7 separate regions of the Homo sapiens genome follow, and all the other regions are linked to region 4. The links are contacts of gene promoters, found by promoter capture Hi-C in blood cells and fetal thymus (Javierre and others, 2016). All regions are on one chromosome and are shown on one strand. The core of a region is centred on a gene start or on the middle of the fragment in contact, and the rest is flanking DNA. Distances in the headings are between cores, read along the strand shown. Region 1 has its middle 38 kb from the start of MIR577. Region 2 overlaps NDST4 (N-deacetylase and N-sulfotransferase 4). Region 3 has its middle 130 kb from the start of MIR577. Region 4 holds the start of SNHG8 (small nucleolar RNA host gene 8). Region 5 overlaps CAMK2D (calcium/calmodulin dependent protein kinase II delta). Region 6 has its middle 220 kb from the start of UGT8. Region 7 overlaps LOC105377374 (a long non-coding RNA gene).

Region 1 (2,700 bases), core at 146-2,645, 3.6 Mb after region 4:
GAGCAAAATTATCTATACTTTTAACAAATCAACTCAGATCTTTAGTCAGCATGTTTCAGTGGCACAAACGTGCTGGAGACTGCTAGGGAAAAGATACCACAAAACAAATTTTATCAATATAAAATTTTTTGCTGAGCACATAATCGGTACTCAGTAAATATTTTTTGAATTAATAAAAATAACTGACTATAACATTTTGATCATGTATGTCAAATATTTTATTGCTCATTTGCAGTGTGATTAACACAACGGAGCTTATCTAGTGTAAAGAAAACATATTTCCCCTGAGAAACTATACTAGTTTACATTGTTATGTACTCTCTTATTTCTCTGTCAGTTTACAGGCTAAGTCAACATAGCAAAGTGCAGGCTAAACATTTAATTTAGTCAATATAGACACAATAATGTAGGTAAATTAGGCTATGACAAATTGAGTCTGAATTTAAACACTAATTAAATTAACTGGATAATTAACAAAATTCCAATTTCACTTGTAATTTGTAAACAGAGTCTTAGAAATATAATTGTGACACTTTCCCCCTACTCCTTGGTAGAACTTTGTTCCAAAGAGTAAATAAAGCATATAGATGATCATATAAAAATCAAAGAATGTTTGGATTCAAAGAGAGACTGGGGTTTAATCCAATATATTCATTCTGAAAATAAGTTTCAGGCTTAATGATATCAAATAATTTGCCCCAATTTCTGCTAGTATATATATGTCTGAAGACAAAATTTGACAGTCTCCAGCATGTTTGTGCTGCTGAAACATGCTGATTAAAGGTCTGAGTTGATTTGTTAAAAGTATAAATAATTTTGCTCCTGAAAACCTAGCAAAAATTAGAATTCATTGCTTGTGATGTTATTTTGCTTAAAACACATATAAAATAAGCCTAGGTCAACAAAATTTGCTGCTACTAAGTATAAGGACATGTCTATTCAGTCATTTAAAAATATAAATAATGATAGATTATCATAAATGGAAAATATATACACAGGTTGTCTTTTGGCTTTCTTTTAAATTTTCTTAAAAGTCCATATATTACTGAAATTCACCTAATCAGAACAAGTGTGGTGCTTATACACATAAATGGAGCATATTCACATCAGCTAAACATAATTGCACGAAGAAATATATTTATATTATAAGCTACAGTTTTAAATTTTATTCTCTACACAAATTTCTCAGAATTAAAATGTAAAAATGTTTACTAAAGGTTGTTTATCTCTTTTCTGCCTACCCCTTTGTTCTTAACCATTTTAAGGTATCTTTGCTGAAGACAAAAATTACCAAATTTCTCCATTTTATTCAATCTCCAACTTATCTCAATGTCTCTCAAGATATATACAACATTGACATCTTAAAACTTTGAGAACAGTGAATAAATAAATCTACATTTCACCACTAGATGTCATCAAAGATCTGTTCATCAGAACATCAGCCATCCAGCTTTTGGCCATTTGACCTCTGCCAGAAAAATTATTGTATTTCTCAGCATAATCAGGAAACGATAATTTTAGTAAAATAGTCTATCTAATTCCTCAATGTTTAAATAATGAGTTTCCATATGCAGCAATATCTTAAAAATACATAAAAATAACCCAAATGTATATTAATAGAGAAGTTACTTTATCATTTCAAAACTCCCAATAGATCTAATTAATAGGCATTGCCAGTGTGAGAGTAATTTTATAATTTATATATATATTTATCAGAAATATACATGCATGTAATTTCTCTGCCATTTTTATTGGAAAATAAGTACAAGTTGTCCTCTTTCACTCTAAGATAACTCACCAGTTGGGAGGATTATAACACCATTAGCAGTTGAAACTGTTCATATCATTTGTAACTATTATTATCAGCCCCAAGATGGAGAATCTGATAATTGAGTTTACATGTTTAATTAGCTTAAATAATTTTAATATATACTTTTCATTCATTGTATTTATTCCCACAAGAAATAATAATGAAATAATTTGCTTCATATAGTTTTATGGTAGAATTCCTTTAAAAAGCAAACTTTCATGCAACATGTATAATTTTATCTGAAAAACCCAATCTAATAATCTACTTTTATTGCTTAGAGTAAGTTGATGTTCATCTGAATTGGCATACTTCCAAACTGAAAGAGAGCAGGAAGGAAACATTCATAATAAAATAAATAATGAATACATTCTCTTCAATGTAGACTTTTTCTTCATAATGTGCTATCAAATATCACTTTGGGTATTAAATATTTTCCCTGAATGTGCTTTGTAGTATCTTTTTTTTCAAGATAAAATGTAATATAATTGGAACCATTTTGATTAAGCATTTTTATTCTTTTTTTGAACACTCATTAATTATACTTTGTTTTCTAGGACCTGAATAATGTTTTTATTGCAAATTTCCCAACTTAAAGATAATCTCTATGTTTTGGAGAATACATTGACTATGACCAGGATGGAAAATTTAAATTCATATACTAAATCACCAACTCAATCCTTCCAAGAAAAAGAAAAGAAATCATATATTCCAAGGCTGTCATATATAATGCCGACTCAAAATTATGATATTTCTGATAGGTCGATCATACTAATAATTTACTTTAGTATGATATTCAGAAAAGAGTGAGCATGGTATATATTTAGTTCACTGCATATCTTCAGGTATATTTCCTGGCACACATTAGATATTCTGTATGTATCTGTTGAAGA
Region 2 (2,700 bases), core at 124-2,623, 3.2 Mb after region 4:
TGCCTCCCAGGTTCAAGCATTTATCCTGCCTCAGCCTCTTGAGTAGCTGGGACTACAGGCATGCACCACCACACCCAGCTAATTTTTGTACTTTTTTAGTAGAGACGGGGTTTCACCATGTTGGCCAGGATGGTATCGATCTCATGACCTTGTGATCTGCCCACCTTGTCCTCCCAAAGTGCTGGGATTACAGGCCTGAGCCACCGTGCCTGTAGTAATGTAGTGTATAATGGGAAATTTTTTTTTTAATGCTGTGTTAGTTCATTCTCAAATGACTATATAGCTGCAACTGGGTAATTTATGAAGAAGAGCTTTAATTGCCTCACAGTTCTGCTTCTCCTTTAAATATCAGTTCTGACTTTAGGTCATTTCTTTGCTTATGTATCCCAGTATAGGTTGTTAGAAGCATCCAGGTCACTTTTTTTGGGCGGGGGTTGGTGGGGGCGGAAGAGAGTTTTGCTCTATTGCCCAGGCTGGAGTGCAGTGGCACAATCTCAGCTCACTGCATCTTCCGCCTCCCGGGTTCAAGCAATTCTCTGTCTCAGCCTCCTGAGTAGTTGGGATTACAGGCACCCACCACCATGCCTGCTAATTTTTTTTGTATTTTTAGTAGAGACAGGGTTTCACTATCCCTACCAGGCTGATCTTGAACTCCTGACCTCGTGATCCACCCACCACTTCTTGAATGCTTTGCTGCTTAGAAATTTCTTCCACCAGATACCCTAAATCATCACATTTAAGTTCAAGTTCCACAGATCCACAGGGCAGGGGCACAATGTAGCATAGTTGTTCGCTAAGGCATAACAAAAAATGACCTTTTCTCCAGTCCCCAATAAGTTCCTCATTTCCATCTGAGACCTCCTTAGCTTGTATTTCACTGTCCATATCACTATCAGCATTTTGGTCACTACCATTTAAAACCAGTCTCTAGGAAGTTCCAAACATATCCTCATCTTCCTGTCTTCTAAACACACACTCTCTCTTTTGCTCCTGCTTCCACCATGTGAGATACCTGGCACCCCCTTGCCTTCTACCATGATTGGAAGCTTCCTTATATCTCCCCAGAAGCAGAAGCTGCTATGCTTCCTGTACAGCCTGCAGAACCGTGAGCCAATTAATCCTTTTTTTCTTTATAAATTTTCCAGTCTCAGGTGTTTTTTTAGAGCAATACAAGAACAAAATAATACAAATGCATTCTACATTCATTTTTTTTGAACTAAAGGAAGTGATAGAGAAATAGAACATCTGATTCTTGGATAAAAATTGACAATGAGTAAGAGTTTTAATTCTTATTACAAGAGTAGGCAAAATTAGGAAATATGCTTTGAGACTAACATGTCATTGTTCTTTTCACCTAAGCGTTCTGTCCTCTGTTTCATTAGCGAGATCTGAGAATGCCTGTTCCTGCAAGAAGAAGGAGCAGTCCTATGTATCTGGGCTGTAATGCTGAAGAGGGCCAAGTGGCTCCCTGTGAGTCCAGATAAAGGATATATTATTCAAGAGAAAAACTTGTAACTACTCTAAACTTAAGACAGATTTATTTAGTCAGCTGGGAATTCCAGAGACTCAGGCAGATACCTAAGAGCATGTTTAATTGCTCTAAGCCCCTGATTCCTGATTTCCTAATTTTATATGTATATAATGGTTATCAGTTCTGTAGAATAGTTTTATGGTAACTGACATACTTTGTTAAAGCTTACTTTCTTACTTCTTTTCTTTTTTGGTGGGATTAGTTAGAAAATGATCTCAATACATGTTTCTATATACATATGGATGTTTAGGCCAAAATAAAATTGGGTTCTGTGTTCTGGAGGTTATCAAAAAATCTACTATACTCTAGGTAGTTAAGTCTAGACTGTAAACATCAGGTTGTTAATATTTTAGCATATTAACACTAAAATTATCATTGCTATATATGTTTCTTGAGCATCAGCATTTATATAGAAATAAATATTTATATTTCTATTTTTATCTTAGTTATTACATCTCTCCTCTCTTTCAGATTATGCTTAGAGGATTCTGCAGCAATTCTCAGTATTGGACATATTCAAAATCTCCTCAACGTATATCCTTCCCATCTATTGCCTTCCAGCTTTAACTCAGTTGTGCTCCCTTCAAACATTTTACATGATTTGCGATGGTTACATGAACTCTGGGGAAGTGATATTTGCAACATCTCATACTTTATTCACTATGGCACTTTAGGAAACGAAATTGGGAAAAAGCTTCCAAAACATTATTCTAAAAAATGAATCTTATTGTGAAACTTCGGAGAAGTTTTCGAACATTGATTGTTCTCTTAGCTACCTTTTGCTTGGTGAGCATTGTCATTTCTGCCTATTTTCTCTACTCTGGCTACAAACAGGAAATGACACTTATTGAAACCACTGCAGAAGCAGAATGCACTGACATCAAAATTCTACCATATAGGTCAATGGAGCTGAAAACAGTTAAACCTATTGACACATCCAAAACGGACCCTACTGTCCTTCTCTTCGTGGAGAGCCAATACTCTCAACTCGGTCAAGATATCATAGCTATTTTGGAGTCCAGCCGATTTCAGTACCACATGGTTATTGCCCCTGGAAAGGGAGATATACCTCCTCTTACAGATAATGGCAAAGGGAAATATACTTTAGTTATTTATGAAAATATTCTGAAGTATGTCAGCATGGACTCATGGAATCGAGAGCTTTTAGA
Region 3 (2,816 bases), core at 296-2,795, 3.5 Mb after region 4:
TTAAAAATGGGAGTTTCCCTGCAGAATCTCTCTCCCCTTGTCTACCACGATGTGAGATGTGCCTTGCACCTTTCGCCATGATTGTGAGGTCTCCCCAACCACGTAGAACTGTAAGTCCATTAAACTTATTTTTCTTCCCAGTCTCGGTTATGTCTTTACCAGCAGCATGAAAATGGACTAATACGCCTAATGATGGAGATCCATATTTATCAAATAAACTGGACAACAAGTACTCAACTACAACTGTGACAGCTGCTGCAAAAATTCCCGATGTTGTCAGAGTCTATAATAAAGGGATGGATTTTACCTGTCAAAATCACGGAAGATATTCCCTAGGAAATGCCACTTGATCTAAGATTTGAATGATTAACAGGTATTAACTAGCAAAAGAAGAATGAGATCAACTTTCCCAGACCAAAAAAAAAAAAACCAAAAAGCTAAGCAGATACAAATTCCTGAATAGGAGGAAGATGGCTACTCTGAGCATATAGGAAAAGATAAGGCCACATTCAGGAATTGTGTTTTTATCCTTAAAAAGGAGAATGATATTCAAGAGATATAACTGTCCCGACGGAAAAGCAATTTTCCAGGCAACAAAGTACTACCCAGAACCTAAGTGTATTTGTCTGTTTCCTCGCTATTAAGTCAGAGTGAGAAGCTTCCACCTGAATTTGGAAAGTGATCCTCAGGTCTTTCGTTATGCTACCTGCTTTGATGTACTTCTGGCTATTTGTTTCACCTGTATGATTTTATGTTTCTACTTTAGCAGTGTGCTATTTGTAGTCAGTTTAGCTACTAGACAGTAGCATGACATCACCAAGGGGGCTTCACAATACAATTCAAGCCACACCCCTGCTCATGATTTTCAAAGCCCTCAGAGATCGGCTCTGTGAAGATAACTGGCGCAGGTCCAGAGATTCTATCTTCTTGTCCCTACTCTGGCACAAAGAAGTTTTAAGTTCTTGCACAAATTTCTTCACCTTACTTGGCCTCAGTTTTCTTATTAGGTAACCTCTAACAACTTTCTGAATTTCTTTTGTATTTGAATATGGCCACTCTTCTTACCATCTCCAGAGATATTTCAAATTAGCCTAACTAAATATTTTAAAAATAAAGTAGCCCACGCAAAGAACATGCTATTCATTCCATGCATTGAAACACTGTGCTATCATTTAGAGCGAGGTTATAAGTCGACCCCCTCCAGAAATTCCTGAAATGCCAAAAACAGTTGGCTACAGAGAGCAGAAAAAGAAATGCTCAAATGACCCATGAGAGTTGACTCTCCTCACTCAGTGTAAATTGTTATTCACTTCCTGTGAGTGGGCAAATTACTGTTTACAAAGCTATTATGGGTCTCATTAGTTGTCATTATTATTTATGGATATCACAGCAATTACCAAAGTGCCTCTGTGCACTTTACCTTGGAGTTCTTTCTTTAATTAGTCATATTGAGTGTTACTAGCTGACCTCCTTGCATAATGGATAAGGCAAAGGAAGTACACAGTAAGGTGATTAAAAACAGGATCTTTGTTGTAAGGAGGGGAAAGGAATGAGTCTGTGAGGATCAATCAGTGACACTTCATCGCCAATTGCCAACTGCAAATTTACCTATATAGAAACCAAGAGAAATTACTCTGTTACACATGTAGAATAATGACATTTTGATGGACTTCCCCTCCTCCAGGGAAAGAGAGGAGTGACTCTGTCTTACAGAGCCTAGAAAGCAGGAATTAAATTGCCAGCAAGACTCCTATTAGCCTATTATTTAAATGTTTAACCCAATGACCCGGTGAAGCATGATTAATAAGAAATCTGTCCATGGTATCAGTTTATGTCGATGGGACTCATTGTCAAGTGGCACAAGCACATTGCAGACTTCTAATTTATTATTTAGGCTGATATGTCCTTGTGATTCACTTGAATACAAAGATTGGTATGTCTATATCTAGCAATTTCAGACTCATAATGTAATAATTTTTGTTTTGTTAATGTAATGCAATTTTTGCATCATCTCTCAAACAAAAAAATTAGGTATAAAATATGTGAAAGAGGGATTTATATTTTCTATATTATATAATACTTGCTACTTATATCAGTCAATCAAAACTACTATTAAGCACCTACCATACTCGCCAAAGTGTGGTAGTTGCTAAAGTGAAAACTGGAATAATAATAATAACAACAAAAGAGTAATTACCTGTTATAGTAAGTATTGCAACAGACTAGCAATAATAGTTTTAAAAAGGAAGAAATGTATTAGAGTAATGCTATAGGAAAATGTCCATGTAGGAAATAAAGGTTGAACTGAACATAACAATATATCTTGGCAGGTGTATATAAAAGAGAATAATAACTCAGACAAAGGGAAAAACCAATAAAAATGAAAGAGTGAGATGACCTTTATTATAAGTTTTGAGTCAGTGAGAAGCTTCTCCTAAAAGGTTCCTTATCAGAAGTAGTGAAGAAATGTTGACTAGGAAACACAGAAAAAACATATAGAGTAAAAGCAAGAAGAGTGTAAACTTAATGTTGTGCTACCAAAAGACAGTATGGTAATAATAATTTATAAATGTGGCTCTTGACATTTCTTTCAAGTATTCCCACATCATTTATTTGCAAAGGGCAGACAAAACATTGTCATCATTCTTGTTTAACAGATGAGGAAATAGCCTCATTACAAGTAAAAGACTAGTAAGTGACATCCACGTCTTGTTGAGGTGGTCTGACTTCTGAGGCAGGGATCTGATAACTTTATGGGCTTCACAGAGCAGTAACAGTGTGAACGTGTCTGTTAAGGACAATGAGTTTTACTGAAT
Region 4 (2,700 bases), core at 158-2,657:
GCAGTTTGCTCAATCCTTAAGAATACATGGTTCATACAACATGCTTTTACTATGTCTTAAGTGTGACTTTTGAAAGATACAAGTGTTCTGTGCATATTTGTGTAAATAAATACATAATTTTCCACCTTGTATAACTGCCTTAAATTTTTGTATGGTTTAAAAAGAGTCTGCTGTCTCCCTTGGGGGTAGCCTGGTAATTTTTATATTTTACATTTTTCACAAAGGCTGCAATTACCTTAGAACTGTACTCACACTACTTCCACATGAGCGTGTAACACTAAATAGGAGGTATTATGCTATTAACTACCTTTCCGTCTATTAATCACTCAGTCAAGGAACAATGAGTAGCCACATGAATTAAGCATTTTATTTAATTATCACGGACCACCTTAAATATTACTTTACAAAATTCAGGCCTATATTTAAAATAGGTGTCCTGATAACTTCCAGGATATTATTCGGAACACCCGTTTCCCCAACTACGATAAGTCCATTGCCGGATGCTGAATAAACTTCGCCCATTACCACTTGGATTTCTTGATAGTCTGCAAGAGAAAAAAAGCATTATAAAACTCCGAGCTGTGTACTTACCTCACTGTTTTGAGATCTTATCAGCTAATTCAGTTGGTTGTTAACTCAAACTACAAAAGCCAGCAAAACGGGCCAACTTTAGCTTTCCAACGTCCTGCCGCTAAGGCGTTTCAGATTAACTCAGAAATATCAAAAAAGAAATGTACCTTATGTTTCCATCATCCATCGTAATGTGTTCAGCTCAGCTTCCTAGAAACATTGAACAACGGTTTAGAAATTTTGCCCAATAACCCGGCACCCTCTAGGTTTTTAACAGTGAATGTTACTTGTGCAAGTCAGAATCTGATACCAATTAAATGGTGACAGCTTTGCCAATAAACAAGGATATGCTCTTCCATGGCTAGGAAGGGAGACTGCCACGGCTGACAGGTCCCAAAGATACATGGAGATTCACAATCCAGAATTAACCAGCAACCAAACTGCTACAGGTTATTACTCACCATCTGGCTCAAACTGACGGTTCTCGGGGTGCTAGGGCACAAGAGCGACAGAGTAGACTCAAGATGGCCACATGACACAGACGGCTGAACAGGCTTCACCGGAGTCCCCGAGTGCACGGAACCTTTCCCCGAGGGCCCACGGCCCACGCACGCCGGGGTTCAGGGTCCAGGGCTGCACGTGGACGCCCGGCGACCTAATGAGCACTCAAGTCCGCGCATGCTTGTAAACTTAAGGGTTTCCAAAGCCGCCCCCGACCTACCAATATCCTGACTGCGCTGCCTTTTAGGTAAGGCAGTAAGTTTCGGCCCAATTATCATTTTAACTTACGAAAGACAACTACGTACTTTCACCTAATCCCGACGCTTCCCGAATGTGAAAGGCCGAGGCCTTCGGCACACGCTCTCTTATAGAACTGATGACGCTATTCCGGGGGAAGCGCCGCGAGGGGCGGAGCCTATGCTGTTTCACTCCCCGCCCCGCCTAGCCCCGCCGCGGCTCCACCTGTTCCGTCTACCACCCCCTTCGCGGCTCCTTTCCCCCCTCCCCCGCACATGGTCCACGTCTGAGCGGGTCACCTGGCTCCGGATCCAGACGCATGCGCACATACGAGAGCCAAAAGGTTCTCGCATAGCGAAAGATCCTGACGCTTACCGGTGTAGGTCACGAAAGCGAGGGGGATTTTTTTGGTATTTCCTGTTTAGGATACTTATTTTAGACAATATTAGAAAAAGGGGCCGAACGCGGTGGCTCACGTCTGTGATCCCAGCACTTTGGGAGGCCGAGGCGGGCGGATCACTTGAGGTTAGGAGTTGGAGACCAGCCTGGCTAACATGGCGAAACCCCGTTTCTACTAAAAATACAAAAATTAGCCTGGTGTGGTGGTGAACGCCTGTAGTCCCGGCTACTCGGGAGGTTGAGGTGGGAGAATCTCTTGAGCCCGAGAGGCGGAAGTTATGGTGAGCTGAGATCGCTGGTTAGCATTTTACAAATTACCTAATCACTACTCAAAAACAAGAAAAGTCTGAGAAACTATTATGCCAGAGAAAATGATGCATAATGATTAAATGTAATGTGGTATCCTGGCTGGGATCTCCAGCAGAAAAAGGACATTAATGGAAAACTAGCGAATCTGAACAAAGTGTGGAATTTAGGTAATAGTGCCAATACCGATTTCTTTATTGTGACAGATATACCATGGTATTGTAAGATATTAATGGTAGGGGAAATTGGATGAAGGGGGTGTGGGGACTCCATTTTTGCAAATTTTCTGTAAATGTAAAACAAAGTTTAACTTAAAAAAGCAATTATAACCTTACAGTCTATTATACTTTCATTTTAAGACAAAGTAGTGATTTAGTAGTGGTTTCTATCTACTTTAGTGTGAAATTTGTGGCTGAGATGACAGTATTTCTAAGTTTGACTTGAGATCAAACCCAATGAATTTAGCTGCATTCAAACCAAGGCTTTGAGCCTTTGGATATTCAGGAGAGACAATGTGGTAACAAATAAAAGAATTAAAAATTGGTTGGTAAATGAAGATTGGCTTAAGGATTTTATTTTATGTATTTATTTATTTAGAAACATTCTTGCTCTGTTGCCTAGCCTGGAGTGCAGTGGCATGATCTTGGCTCAGTGCAACCTCCACCTCCTAGGCTCAAGCGAGCCTCC
Region 5 (2,843 bases), core at 180-2,679, 4.7 Mb after region 4:
ATCAAGCTCCTTAAATCTCGTCTGTTTTTGAGCTTAATGTTTTATCTCCTCTGCTATGACACATATAGTTTGAGAGCAGGGCTATGTGTAGTGGAAAAAATTTTACTTTATGAATCAGAATATATGAATTTATATCTTGGCTCTGATTCTTAACAGCTGTATGATATTGAGCAAGTCACTTTAAATCTGTGAGGTCACTATCCTCTTTGTAAATGGGATAATAAACACTTCTTCACAGGACTGTTATAAGATTGAGTGAAATAGTCCATAGAAACTTGATTGAGCTATAAAGGATGTTCAATAAGTTTTCAAAATTGTCTTGGTGTGAAACAATGACATAATTCTTTGCATATTCAGTGAGAGTTGTTTAGTGAATCAGTGAGTAGAGGACTGAATATCAGGTCAGTAAAAGCAATAGCATCCAAATAAAAGTACATAGATTTTCAAATTGTTACTGATTTCTAAAAACAAGCTGGTCCCAAAGAAGCAGTGACAGCTCAGCAATAAAATTTCCACTTCATCAGCATGGTGCTATCAGCAATTAAGTTATTGTTAAGGTACCTGTTAGAGTAATAACTTTTAAAAGAAGCAACATCTTAAGTTCTAAGGCAATTCAGTATTTCAGAAGTACAGAAAAACAGAGTGTCTAAACTTGGGAGAATATACTTCTTTTTTCTCTTTCTTTTTCTTTTCTCAAGTTCAAGCGAATCTTCATGGTAATCTGAGAAAAAAGGAGATGTGGTGTTCTACGTTTCTTTCAGATGAGCTGCCAGATATATTTTAAGTATTAGGAGTAAAGGCATGTTTTAATAATGAATGACCTGTTTTGATGTTTATTCATTATGATCTGCCATTATAGTCCCATATATTTTTACTGATTAATTTTATCTTTCAAAATGTAATATCAGTGTTTATGGAGGAAAAGCTTTGTTATTTTAATTTTGATAAAGAGCAGGACTCTTTCTTCATTATGTGGAATACCAGAGCTTCAGGCTTTTACATAATTTTATTTTAATAAATATACGAGGTCCATTACAAATAAGAAAAAACATAGTATGTATACGAAACAACATAATAGATAATACAAAGCATTATGGAAGCTGTTTATTGTTTTTTTTTTAATTATCATTTTTCAAGTCCCAACTTGTTTGTTTTTTCCCATATTTACTTTTCATTTTCTAGTCTGGTCTGTTGGAATACTAGCCAAAACTGGTAGAAGTAAACACCCTGTCACTATACTTGATAAGATGGCTAGAAAATTTACCAAAAAGAAATATTCAAATATATTCTGTTTCTCTTATGGAACTGGACATGTTATTTGCAATACATTTCTAGCATTTTGTTGCTGCTAGAAAAAAAAAAGATAACTACCAAGATCTTGGTTCATGGAAGAATTATTTTGCTTTGTTGCTGTTATGTCTCTTTTTTATGATATTAAGGTTCTTTTTATGCCAATGTGTTACAATGGATACATTTCCAACAGTCAGTAATTCTCTTTTCTCTTTGTGTTATCTATTTTGATTTTCTTATTGGTTTTTCAAAGTAAGAAACATATGCTATCCCTAAAAAAGGCAAGCTCTCATTACTTTTTCTATTGATGGCATGTAGTATGATAATCCTAGATTCTTGCAAGTTTAATTTCCCACAGAGAAGGTCTTCTCTATTTTACCCCCCATATGTCTGTATTTATGAGGTCACATTGTACCGTACATTCTTTCCTAACGTCCATGCATTTAGATATATGCTTCAATATTCTTGGGGTAAGGACCCCATTGACTGCTCAAATGATGGTTGTAACTAAATAAGAATGAGCATGCTGGTATTCTCTTAGAATTTTAGTCTCCAGAAGAGGTTTGTAATAATTTATATTTTAAATGATCTTTTCATTTCTTCCTCACATAGTAACTTACTTCCCTATCTTAGGGAAGCTTAGGAGAGGTATTGTTAACATTTCGTACTTCTGGCCATGTATTCTAAGTTATTGAAATCATACATTATTAAAGTTTACTGATTTAGACAGAAGAGTACAGATTGTATATAAAAGAGTCATTGAAATTCAGGGTGAGAAGGGACCACCGAGAACTGTAGGTAACTAAGGAGAGCTCTAAGATGGAAATAACTTAGAGCCACTCTCTGTTAGAAAAGAGGTAGAGAAAAAATATTGAGGATTCAAGGAACAGAAAAAGTAGTATCAAGGGTGACACTGAGAAGGCCATTTTTAAAAGACCTTAAAGAGATTAGTCAGGTCAAGGGCTCAGAAGGAGAATGAAATCATGTTGAATGAATGAAGTGTAGCCGGATGATAAAGGATCTGAAAGTGCACACTAAGAACATTGGATGTAATCTGGACATTAGCATCGATTTCTCACTGGAGTCTCATTGCCTGTCAACTCTAGAGAAGTTGGAGAAGGATGGTGAGAGTGGAGGGGACAGAAGTGCTGGCAAACTCTTTAAAACAATTGTGTCCATCTCTACCTTGGAATTCACAGAGTGCATATCACTCCTTGAGGAAATCTTCAAGCTTTAGGCAGTGGAACCACCATTATTGCTCAGTAATTCTCTGTACCTCACAACTACCAACCAAATATTTATTTCAAGTCGAGTTTGAGGTACAGATGGATTACCCAGGGTCCATTTGAAGCTTAAATTGCAACATACAGGTCTTTTCTTGGAATCCCTTCTCATTGTCTATCCAATCTTCCCCCAAAACAAACAGAAAAAGAAGAATGGTAATAGAAAAGAAAAAAGATTAAGTGCAAAGTTTTTTTCCTCATTTTCTTTTTTGTTCAGAGAAGTAACTGTGTTGTATATATTGTCTTTTAATACCTCTTTGCATGTTGTTT
Region 6 (2,700 bases), core at 39-2,538, 3.9 Mb after region 4:
TCCTTTTTGAATTAATTTTGCTTTCAGATACCATAACTGTAAATTTATTTCTCCTGACCAAAAAATACCTTATTGCAAAAGAAGAGGGGTCTATTGTACAGGGACCTTGTTGTAGTAAAACAGAGTGTGTGTGTGGGTATATATATATATCTCCAGGTATCCATGTATCTATCTATCTATCGATCTATCTATCTATCTATCTATCTATCTATCTATCTATCTATCCATCTATCTTTCTAGAGAGATAGATAAATCTATATCTATATATCACTTTTTATATAATATATGAACATCTTCAGATAATTTCCTGGGTTCCATGTTATAATAGTTCTTGTTAATCATAATCAGTTTTTGATATAAGAAAAATTGAATATAGAATTCAGAAGTGATTAAAATTAGTACAAACTACTTCAAAACAATGCTAAAATTTCTGTGAACTGAAGTCTAAGATTGCTCGGCATGTTTGAATAAGGCAAAGTTGTTTTTTGTTTATTTGTTTGTTGTTGTTCTCAGATAAGAGGGGGATAGTTACTTTATATCCAAATCCTTACAAAATCTTACTTATTGCTGATCCTCTCTCAGTTTATTTAATTTTGACTAACCAAACCAAATTGTTGTTGTTCAGTGAAGACACATTAGCCTAAAAATCTGTCAATACTAGTATCAAGTGAGTGATTGACTGAGATCGACTGAATTGATGAGAAAGAAAAAAAACCCTAAAACTATAATACAGATTTATTTATTCCTATCATGAACATGACTTCACAATTGCAAGTGCTGGGTTATAAACAAGTTTAAAATTTATTTAAAAAGCAATGCAGCAAATGGTCGTGTTGAGGAGATAGTGGATGTATATTCATAGGAAAATATAAAAACAAATGGGCTAATGTTTTGTGAATGTATACACTCAGGATAAATTTTCCAGTGAAAACATTGTATACAGACCCAGAAAGTGCTTTATCTCAAAAAAGTGTGGACCAGTAAGAAAATAATGTGCTCTGGACAAAGCCATTAGATTCAACAGGCAGCTCTGTTAATGATGAAGACTACTTTAGGAAATACATATCAAAAGCTTAAATAAAATAGTTCAAGGAATGTGAAAAAGTATATTTTTATAGTAGTAAAGTAATTACATAATAATTTGTGATTATAAATATGTTAATTTATTTGATGAAGTAAATATTAAAAGTTGATATTGTTGAAGTTAATTAAGATGGAGACCATGCCTGAAAAAAATCCCTGAGCTGACAAACCCAATTAGAGCTCATAAGTTACCTCAACCTTGCTCGATTTGCAAACATAAGTGAAACAACCTGAGGTGTTTCTTGTAAATGCCTGTATTAACGAAAAACAGAACTCAATCTCAATCAATCAGAAGCAGCCAATTAACATATTATAATTAGCAACTTTCTAAGAAAAGAAACCAAATAAAGCAACTGTACAACTGTAATCAGTCAAATGTCTTATTTTCTTTTACCTCAATGATAGGATTGTAAAAGCTTCCCTGTTGCATTTCACTTGGTGGAGCTCTCAGATCACTTCTGGTTTGGAGCCGCCCGGTTAATGAATCATTGTTAGCTGCAATAAATTTTTTAAAATAGTATTGTGTTTCAGTTTACCTTTTAAATAGTATTTACAATTATATATACAAAATTAGATGTTAATATGGTAAAGTTAGTGAAAAAAACTTCTTTCTGGATCTTTTCCTTGGGAAAATAAAAGATGACTTTATGTTTTAGGTTAACTCAGCAGGAATGCATGGTACCTAACTTCATTCTGAACCATATTCCTTTAACATTTACCACCTTCTATTAATTAATCCCTCACCTATTTTCCACCAAAGATTAGTTCACTCACTTAAAAATTAACAAGTCTAGAACGTAATTTACAAGAAGAGATGTCTCCTAACTTCAGAAGCCTAAAGGTTTGATAAAAGGAGTTCTTCTTTAATGATTTTAACATGCATGATGATTTTCCTTTTGATTAATAAAGAAAAAGCTAGAATTTAAGAGCCAAAGGGTAAGCTATCACATCAGGCTCTGGCCAATCCTATGCTAATTAGGAAATTGCAGAGCCAATTAAGCAAGCGATGATTAGACTGTTGTCACTGGTCAAAGAAAGCAGCTAAATTGGTTTCTTTTGACTACCACATTTTAAACTGAACCTCCATTAAAACCACAAAGAGACATTTCTTTGAAAATGATTTTAAAAAAAGGATTTAAAAAACTAGATAATCTCTTTAGGGGATACTTTCTCCCAAAAAAGTGTTAAAGTTCTGAATGTGTAGGTTGCCTTTCACTAATAAGTGAAGACATACAAATAGAAAATACTTTCCCATTGACCAATGAGTAGATTAATAAGAACCCATGTGGGTTATTTCTTCTGGAATAATGCCTAATAAGGCTGTCAAAGTTACACTGGTGTCTTAATCCATTTTATGTTGCTATATAACAGAACACTTGAAGCTGGGTAATTTATAAAGAATAGAGGCCATGTGTGGTGGCTCACGCCAGTAATCCCAGCACTTTGGGAGGCCGAGGCGGGTGGATCACGAGGTCAGGAGTTCAAGACCAGCCTGGCTGAGATGGTGAAACCTTGTCTTTACTAAAAATACAAAAAATTAGCCGGACATGGTGTTGGATGCCTGTAATCCCAGCTACTCGGGAGGCTGAGGCAGATAATTGCCTGAACTCAGGAGGC
Region 7 (2,700 bases), core at 88-2,587, 4.9 Mb after region 4:
TCTATTTATCTCAATATATATAATATGTGGCATGTTCTCTTAAGTTTGCCATAGGCCAGCCCCTCTCCTGATTTTCTATGTTCAGACAATTCACATATTATTTTCCTGTCTGGCTACTCTCAGCACAGGAATTAGAACCCTAGTTTGAAGCTTTTAGTTTTCTTCTGACCTCTGTTTAGCCATATCTCATAGTTTCTAATATGTTTACTGTTCAGCATTTTTTGAAGCCACACTGCAGGAAGATTGAGTAATGAAAAACTAGGAAAGCATATGTAGAAAAAAAGGCAAAGGAAAAGAGAGAGAGAAAGAGAGCATTAGTTAGGTGTAAAGACAGGATTCAGGGATAAATCTATTTTTCTCATAAGCTGTGCTCACAGGCTGGGAGAGAAAGCCATCATCAGTGAGCACACCATGACAGAGCAAGGCCGCAGGAGATGGGGAGGGGACAGCAAGAATGTCTTTGTCCGTTTGGGATGCTGTAACAAAATACCATAAACTGGACAGCTTGTAAACATAGACATTTATTTCTCACAGTTATGGAGACTGTGAAATCCAAGGTCAAGATGCCAGCAGATTTGGTGTCTGGTGAGGGCCCATTTTCCAGTTCATGGATGGCACCTTCACTGTGTCCTCGCATGGCAGAAGTAACTAGCTAGCTCTCTGGGGTCTCTCTTATAAGGATGCTAATCCGAATCATGAAGGTGAAGCCCTGCCAAAGGCCCCACCTCTTAATACTATCATGTTGAGGGTGGAGGATTTCAACATATGAATCACCTCCCAAAGGCCTCACTTCCTAATACCATCACATTGCAAGGGTGATTTTAACATACGAATTTTGAACATAATATTTAGACCATAGCAAGGACACAGGCCATAAATCCAGGAGACAAGAGAGCATTCTTTGTGAGAACAATGAGTAGTAGGGTTCACGTAAATACAGACAATTTTGGAGGTAGTAATAGAAAAGGCATTTGTGATGGCTAATTTACGTGTTAACTTGACTGGGTCATGGGGTGCCCAGATATTTGGTTAAACCCTATTCTGGGTATGTCTGTGAGTGTGTTTGTAGAATGAGATTAACATTTGAATGGGTGAACTGAGTAAAGCAGACTGCCCTCCCTAATACAGGTGGGCCTCACCCAATCAATCAAAGACCTACATAGAACAACAACAAAAAGAAAATAAAAGAAACTAAGACAAAACTTCTGCTTGACTGCCCTTCAGCTATTAGTTTTCTTGCCTTCAGACTCAAACGGAAACACTGGCTCTTCTTGGATCTCAAGCCTGCCTTCAGACTGAATCTATATCAGCTCTGCTCACTCTGCTGAGTGCAGATCTTGCGACTTCTCAACCTCCATCATCATGTGGAACAATTCCTTACAATAAATCTCTTTATATATGTGTGCACACACACACACACACACACACACAGGCATGCATGCACACAGGCACATACACACTATTGGTTCTGTTTTTCCAGAGAACCCTAATATAGCATTGTAGTAATTCATGCCCATTGACATCTACTTTCTTATAAAACAGCGTCAAGTTCATCTGCCAAATGTGAAGCAGATAAGGAAGAGAAAATGGGCTTGAGAAGCAAGAAAGAGATTTTTCAGAATAGTAATGACAAAGTTACTGAATAAGGTCTGTTTCCCTTTATAAATATATTTTTCCAGAAGAAGAAGAATTTTTTCCGGAAGAAAAGTAATTTTTAATTAATTGTTAAATGATCAGTTCAATATGTCTCTGCTGCAAGATTATAAATCCAAAGGGAAGGGTCTGTGTTTTTCAAAGATGGAGTGTTGTTTATTGTTGGTGCCATTTGCTTGAGTTCTTATCCCAGCTTTGTCGTTTTCTCTCTGCATGATTTGGGGCATGTTATTCAATTTCTTTTCCCCTCAGTTTCCTCACCTGGATCTGTTTCCTAGGATTGTGATGGAGATGAAAGAAGAGCATTGAATAGTAACTGGCAATAGTGAAAACTCAGCAAAAGTGACCCATTGGGCCATGATCTTGGCCCAGTCTACCCTGAGCACTATAGCACAATGTTTAAAATATAGTAGGTCTTGAATTGCATGCATTTGTGGATGGATGAAGACTGTTATTCTCTGGCTTAGCCACTGTGATTGATTGTTAGCAGCTGAGCATTATTTTGGACCTATTCTACATTCTTCCCTGCATGTTGGGGGAAGAGCCTCAGGTATACATTTTTTGGAATCCCTTTCCAGTGGGGTTATGTATTTGATTTTGCCGATGAAAGTTGTTTGCCCAAGATTTGAAAAGGAAAGAGAAGAAAAATGATTATACCTTTGGGAGCAGCTGGGGAGAGGTGCATGGACTCTGGCAGAAGACACATGGAGTGTTTTTGCAGCCATATATGGGCTATCTCCTAAGAAACATATACTTTGCTGCTACATGAATCTGAGCCCTTCAGTGGCAGCTTGGATTTCTGATTTCTGCACTGGTGGATTTCTTCGTAGCAGTAGTAGCTCCTCAGTGTGAAAGGAAAATAAAAGCTTGGGACCCCCAATGCACTATGCCACAAGGAAAAAATTAAGCTGAAAGCTGAGTCAAGCAAGACACTGACTTTCCTTTTGTTTCTAAGCAGATAGCTACAATAAAAGGTTAAAAATCCCCACGGGTAGCTACTCTATGTAAAGCGCCAATTTACTGAGTGCCAAACGAATACATAATTGA

Evidence for each region. Contacts are between HindIII fragments. The CHiCAGO score rates a contact against its expected background, and 5 or more counts as called.
Region 1: a fragment that was not itself captured here is called in contact with the fragment with the promoter of SNHG8 in region 4 in 1 of 17 cell types (naive B cells); the score reaches 6.5 in naive B cells.
Region 2: a contact is called between a fragment that was not itself captured here and the fragment with the promoter of SNHG8 in region 4, in 1 of 17 cell types (naive CD8 T cells). The highest score is 5.9, in naive CD8 T cells.
Region 3: a contact is called between a fragment that was not itself captured here and the fragment with the promoter of SNHG8 in region 4, in 1 of 17 cell types (endothelial precursors). The highest score is 9.0, in endothelial precursors.
Region 5: a fragment that was not itself captured here is called in contact with the fragment with the promoter of SNHG8 in region 4 in 1 of 17 cell types (non-activated CD4 T cells); the score reaches 6.8 in non-activated CD4 T cells.
Region 6: a contact is called between a fragment that was not itself captured here and the fragment with the promoter of SNHG8 in region 4, in 1 of 17 cell types (naive CD8 T cells). The highest score is 6.4, in naive CD8 T cells.
Region 7: a fragment that was not itself captured here is called in contact with the fragment with the promoter of SNHG8 in region 4 in 1 of 17 cell types (neutrophils); the score reaches 6.1 in neutrophils.

Annotation. Positions count from the first base shown.
Region 1 is chr4:114,693,695-114,696,394 of GRCh38, reverse strand. No RefSeq gene overlaps it. Among named protein-coding and RNA genes, the nearest start is that of MIR577, 38 kb to the right of the region's middle. The HindIII fragment of the contact is 4,720 bases long and covers 1-2,700 here.
Region 2 is chr4:115,076,585-115,079,284 of GRCh38, reverse strand. NDST4 (N-deacetylase and N-sulfotransferase 4) reads left to right here. Exons shown (of 14, transcript NM_022569.3): 2 at 2,003-2,700. The coding sequence starts at 2,249. Among named protein-coding and RNA genes, the nearest start is that of NDST4, 36 kb to the left of the region's middle. The HindIII fragment of the contact is 649 bases long and covers 1,049-1,697 here.
Region 3 is chr4:114,781,475-114,784,290 of GRCh38, reverse strand. No RefSeq gene overlaps it. Among named protein-coding and RNA genes, the nearest start is that of MIR577, 130 kb to the right of the region's middle. The HindIII fragment of the contact is 1,770 bases long and covers 661-2,430 here.
Region 4 is chr4:118,277,469-118,280,168 of GRCh38, reverse strand. It overlaps SNHG8 (small nucleolar RNA host gene 8), which reads right to left and starts at 1,407. Exons shown (of 3, transcript NR_034011.1): 1 at 1,377-1,407; 2 at 738-780; 3 at 346-545. It overlaps SNORA24 (small nucleolar RNA, H/ACA box 24), which reads right to left and starts at 979; the gene lies at 849-979. It overlaps PRSS12 (serine protease 12), which reads left to right. Exons shown (of 13, transcript NM_003619.4): 13 at 1-131. RefSeq lists a silencer at 1,580-1,629 and an enhancer at 1,700-1,879. The HindIII fragment of the contact is 13,799 bases long and covers 1-2,700 here.
Region 5 is chr4:113,532,181-113,535,023 of GRCh38, reverse strand. The region is part of intron 7 of CAMK2D (calcium/calmodulin dependent protein kinase II delta); the gene reads left to right. Among named protein-coding and RNA genes, the nearest start is that of CAMK2D, 230 kb to the left of the region's middle. The HindIII fragment of the contact is 1,003 bases long and covers 928-1,930 here.
Region 6 is chr4:114,377,325-114,380,024 of GRCh38, reverse strand. No RefSeq gene overlaps it. Among named protein-coding and RNA genes, the nearest start is that of UGT8, 220 kb to the left of the region's middle. The HindIII fragment of the contact is 427 bases long and covers 1,075-1,501 here.
Region 7 is chr4:113,387,682-113,390,381 of GRCh38, reverse strand. LOC105377374 (a long non-coding RNA gene) reads left to right here. Exons shown (of 5, transcript NR_199847.1): 5 at 1,932-2,700. Among named protein-coding and RNA genes, the nearest start is that of MIR8082, 240 kb to the right of the region's middle. The HindIII fragment of the contact is 2,369 bases long and covers 153-2,521 here.